Regions from separate parts of the Homo sapiens genome. Here region 2 is linked to region 1. The links are contacts of gene promoters, found by promoter capture Hi-C in human tissues and cell types (Jung and others, 2019). All regions are on one chromosome and are shown on one strand. Each heading gives the region's core, a stretch centred on a gene start or on the middle of the fragment in contact. The rest is flanking DNA. Distances are from core to core; before and after follow the strand shown. Region 1 holds the start of PLOD2 (procollagen-lysine,2-oxoglutarate 5-dioxygenase 2). Region 2 overlaps PLOD2 (procollagen-lysine,2-oxoglutarate 5-dioxygenase 2).

Region 1 (2,700 bases), core at 34-2,533:
CTGCAAACCAAATGTCACTTTCTGAATGTAACTCTGAAATAGAAATTTCTGTCCTTAGGCTTAAGAAAAGTTCAAGTAGAAAAGCACTCTATTATAAACTTGGGGGAAAAAATGGTGCCAAGATGACTTAACAAAAAACAAAACAAAACAAAAAGGACATTAGAAGGTCATTTAAATGCAAGATCTAATTTCAGAGAGTTGAGCACAAAGAGCACAAATGTGGAAAACTCCAAGGATTTTTCATGTGCCACAAAAGGCAGCAAAGCATGTTTAGACAGACGTGGTGAAACTCTCTTTAATCTGGCTAAATATAAAACGTTTTGTTTTACACAGCTTCTGAAAACGAGAGACAGCACCGGGCTCAAGAAAAGGGTAGGTAAGGGGAGCAGCTGTGTGTCCACAGCTTCCCCTTCAGATCCCAAAGGAAGAAAGCTGCCGCCTGGAGGTACTGGGTAGCCAGGCAGCCTTACTGAAAACAACTAAGGTTTTCGAGCGAGCGTTGTTTTTGGCAAGAGGGAGGTGTTACCGGCTGCTTCCTGGGGTGCTGGAAGGAATGTGTCACCATCAATTAGAAAGTACACTAAGCCCCGTGTTTAGGTCACAGAAGGAGTACTGCCTCGTCCATCAAGGATAAATCCATGCCAACTCTCGGAAAGGAGGGGAAAGGAGAGCTGCAGGAAAGGTGTTGGTGCCCATGACCTGCAAGTCCAAAAGGAAACTCCAACTTGTTCTGCAGGGAAATTCGGGCACGCTGAGTTCACCGAGAACTCCAAGGAGTCAACGAGGGCGGGTGCCCCTACACTTCCCCAGGGACCAGCGCCGCCCGACCGCAATTCTGGGGAAGACCCCGGCGGTCCTGGAGAGGAGGGACAGGCCCCCACTACTCACCTGGCCAGCCCCGCGGAAGGGCTGGTGGATGAATGAACTGCCCCCCCGCCGGCCGAGCCTCGCGGGACAGCGGCGGACCGCGGGGTGCTCACCTGTGGGGATGCTCGAGGGCTTCTCCGAGTCCGCACCCAGACAGGGATTCCAGGGGTGGAGGACGAGCGCCAGGAGCAGCAGCTGAGGCTTCACCGTGCATCCCCCCATATTCGGCCCTCGAGGGCCGCGCGGGCTCAGGCGCCCACGGCCCCGCAGCGCCGCGCTTCTCGCGAGAACGCAGAGACCCGGGTCCGCCCTGAGCCGCCGATTGCGGGCGGGAGCCGGCGGGCAAGGCGCGCGGCCGGCAGCCGGAGCGGCGCGTAACGCAGCTGAGTGAGGTCGTCGGTGGAGGCACGGAGCAGCAGGCGCCCGGGGCGCTGCGGAGGCCTTATAGGCTCCCCGAGGGGAGGCGACGGGGCGGGCCGCGCCCTGGCTATTGGCCGCCGGCTGACCCGCCGCCGCTGCGCGCCCGGTGCGGTCGCCTCAGCTCGCCCTCCTGGGCCCCACGTCTGGACTGTTTGCTCAGCGCGGACGCTATTTAAGGAGCTGCCTGCGGCTACGTGTGGAGGCTCACGCAGCGCTTCTGGCTGGAACGGGGAAGCCTGCACTTAGCTTTGGGAGTGGGTTTGGGAGAGGGAGGAGGAGCCGCCGGGAGTCTGGCGGGAGGGCGGTGTTCCCGTCTGGGTTCCTCTCTGCTGTCCCAGCCCCGGTAGCTTCCACAGCAGCCTCGAAGGGTGAGAATTTGCTCTTCTATGGACTTGGATACTCCACCCAGTCTGAAGTGACTGCAAATCTGCGGCAATCTTGGCTGACTGGGACCTCGCCAGACTCTTAAGCCATGGAAATGGATCGCCCCTCATTAATTCAGGGGCAGGTTCATCACCCTGTAAAAGGAAGGCCGTGATTTTATTTTACTCCGTAAACCGAAAGTTTTATTGTCCAGTGAACATTTCTTGCTCCGCCGCTTGTGCCAAGAGAGCCTTAGACTCTTTCCAGTAATGAGGCTTGTAAATCCTGCGGAATCGGAGCCCAACGTGTGTAATGCCGGGGCTGTGCTTACAAGATCGTGCTCCAGTCCGCATGGAAAATTACTCCCAAAGACGTGGTCGGAGAGGTCGAGATCTCTGAGCCTTGGCCCCCACTGCTTCCACTTTTGACTGATGTCTAAGAAAATTCCCTTTTTTCTGTTCTCACATTTTAACTAGCCAAGGGTTTAACTTGTTGGAATGAGTGGGAGCAAAAGCACAATTAAGAAAAAAGCTTGACAGTTTTGCCTCATACATTTAATGACATAAGCTATTTTATAGGAGAAAGAGAACCAAACTGCTACCATTCTGGAATCTCCTGCCTAAATTTTCGTGAAATTAGAAAAAAACAGAATCGAGACAACACCCGTTATAACTCTGGGCCTTTGAAATTAAGACAGAAAATTATGGAAAAATGTGTTCCATTATGATCACGTTTTGTCTAAAATTAACATATCAAGATAACATGAACTTAATGCTTTCATCTTGATAGCATTAAAAACAGGTGGAAAACCCTGCAAAGAAATCTTGCCTGGGATGTGACATTTTAGAAAGAATCATTTCCTGTGCCCAGAACTAAGCCAGTTATTACTCTGTTTTGAAGGTTTGGTCTCAGTTTTTTAAAAGAAGAGGAAAACTGGAGAAAGTTCTGAGAAGAGTAACAAATAATTAAAGAAGTGGAAACTATGACCTGTGAGAAGAATGAAATAAGGTTTATTTAGTCTGAAGGGGAAAAAAAAAGCTAAAAGATGGA
Region 2 (2,734 bases), core at 6-2,505, 44 kb before region 1:
TCTGACAAACTATTTTAAAAATGATTCTGTGCCAGTTCCCAGACTGTATCAATGGTTCTCAACTATGGCCTAAAGCGGGAGTCAGTAAATATTTACTCTCTGGCCTTTTACAGAAAATATTTTAGGTCCTGATGACCATATTGTCTGTCACAGTGACTGAACTCTGTCACTGTGTTGCAAAAGCCACCACAGACAATATGTAAACAAATGAGCACAGCTGCATTTCAATAAAACTTTTTACAAAAACAGGCAGTGGTACAAGCCACAGAATCCATCATCTTGAGTCTCAACAAGAAGCAAAAGCTCCCATATAGCCAAAAAAGAAAGCAACAGAAGTGTTCCCTAACCTTGTCATTTAGCCCCAATCCTTTATCATTATTGGCATAAACTTCAGCAAAAATTATAATCATCCAAACTATTAGCAGCACAGAAGTAGCTTCACACCTGATAATTCTTTCATCATATCTTCACCTGAAGCATATGTCTATATTTCCAGAGATAATTAACATCACAAACCAATACTATGGATCCACTCCTAACCACCCACCCTCAAAACACACAGACACAGACACACAGACACAGACACACAGACACACACACGCACACACACAGTTAAAAACACCCACGTACCCAGTTGACTTTGCACAACAGATTATGATAAAATCACAATAAAATGATTAAAATTATTTTATAAATTTTGGAGGGAGGGAAAGGGAGTTAGTTGGCATAAAACAAATACAATTTTAACAGATAAATATTGAACCATCCTGGCATTCCTGGGATAAATCCCACTTGATCATGGGGGATATTTTTGTTGTGCTGTTGGAAAGAAAATAAGTATATCAATGGGATACCTATACTTCCATGTTTACTGCAACACTACTTATAATAGTAAATATATGGAACAAATCTAAGTATGTATCAACAGATGAATGGATAAAGGAAATACGGAGTACACACATAATGGAATATTATTCACCCATAAAAAAGAAGGAAATCCTGTTATTTGCAACAATAAAATGGTTACAACTGGAGGTTACTAGGTTAATGATATAAGCCATGCACAAAAAGACAGTATCAGATGGTCTCACTCATATATGGATATCTTCAGTTTTCCTTTTGTTCTGAGAATAACCTAAAACCTTGCCAAATATCTAAATTTTTTTATCTAAATTAAATATAATAAATCTTACCCTACAGATTATAAAGAGCCAGTTTCTAATTTTAAACGTTCATCCAAAAGTAAGTTTAGAATACATATTCCATGGAAGGAATGCGACAAAATTGTTTCTAAATTAATTCAGGCTTTTTAGCATGTCTAAATGGAATACGGGATAATTATGGGGTATTGGAAACATTCTAAAATTGCATAATGGGGATGACTGCACGACTCTGTAAATTTAATTAAATTCATTGAATTTTACACTTACAAATGTTTATGGCATGTTATATAAATTATGCCCTAACAAAGCTGTGTTTCTTAAAAGGCTCATCTAAACCACTAAGTATATACATCTGTGTATATTTTCATATGATAGTGACCTATGCTTCCATAAAACAGTTGAGTTGTCCTTAAAAATACCACATAAAAAATAAGAATGTTTTGCTTTATTAAAATGAACATATCCTGAATTCTGGACCTTTACCAGAGCTAACCTTAATTAAGAGTTTAGGAATTGTGTTACAGAATGGGCATCATATTTCAAACCATTTACAAACAGTTTAATTCATTCTCCCAGGCCCTAGATTACAATTTTCAACTAGATTCATTACTCTGTATAAACTTTTTAAAAAGGGTGTTGTTTTTAAAAAATAAGAAGGGTAAAAAAAATTTCTTATGTGGCTTCAATTGCTCATCCCTCTTTAACCTCCTGGTTACTTTCTCATGACCCCTAGGTTTTTTCCACAGGATAGTCATGGTAGGTAATGATGCAGAAAATGTTAATGACTCTTCTTAGACAACAACTTGGCTGAGTGGGCACCCATGTTTTCAGTTAGCTGGCTGTTCTCACAGGAGATGTCAGAAATTTTATCTGTTTGTTTCCATTATATATCCCAAACACTAACAGTGCCTGGAAGACACTGTGTCTTCCATTAAAATTTTATTATCTTTTCTGTCAAGCTGGGTCCTAAAGTATCATCTAAATCAACAAACTCAACCTCAAGCAGGCTTTAGGTATATCACAGTGTCCTTCTTCTCATGAGAAAAAAATAGGTCCCTCACTATACCAGTTGTCCACAAGGACAAATATTAGATAGGGGGCCGGAGGTGGGGGATGGTGATGCGAGAGTGATGGTAGAGAAAAGTTCTTCCTAAAACCCAAAAGGAAGCTTGAGGATGTAAAATCATTTCTGACTCACATGTAGTAACTCTTACAAGGAGAATCTGCCTCAGAGCCAAAGTGAAAATGTACATGTGGCAAGTTTAAGCTGACTAATATGGTTGTTTGAAATCCATGGTAATTTTAAACCAAAACATACCCAGTATTTATTCTACAGAGCTATTTTAATGAACTTGGTATTCTTTTTCTAAGTGTAAAAAAAATAACAAATGCTGTAGAAAAATTCCCAGTACACTATGGCTAACACTTGCCTTACCATACTTCATCTTGCAAAATAGGTAACCACAAGCAGAACTTAATATTTTGTGTAAAATATAACAGGAAAATTTTACAGATGCAAGTGTTATGTATCTTTTGAAAATTTTTAAGTGTGTACGGCACTGGGACTTCAT

The links. Contacts are between HindIII fragments. The study calls those that stand out against the background at their distance.
Region 2: a contact is called between a fragment that was not itself captured here and the fragment with the promoter of PLOD2 in region 1, in 1 of the 25 tissues and cell types used here (aorta).

The regions. Positions count from the first base shown.
Region 1 is chr3:146,159,901-146,162,600 of GRCh38, forward strand. It overlaps PLOD2 (procollagen-lysine,2-oxoglutarate 5-dioxygenase 2), which reads right to left and starts at 1,284. Exons shown (of 20, transcript NM_182943.3): 1 at 981-1,284. The coding sequence starts at 1,089. The HindIII fragment of the contact is 5,771 bases long and covers 621-2,700 here.
Region 2 is chr3:146,115,675-146,118,408 of GRCh38, forward strand. All of the region lies in intron 3 of PLOD2 (procollagen-lysine,2-oxoglutarate 5-dioxygenase 2), which reads right to left. Among named protein-coding and RNA genes, the nearest start is that of PLOD2, 44 kb to the right of the region's middle. The HindIII fragment of the contact is 5,917 bases long and covers 1-2,734 here.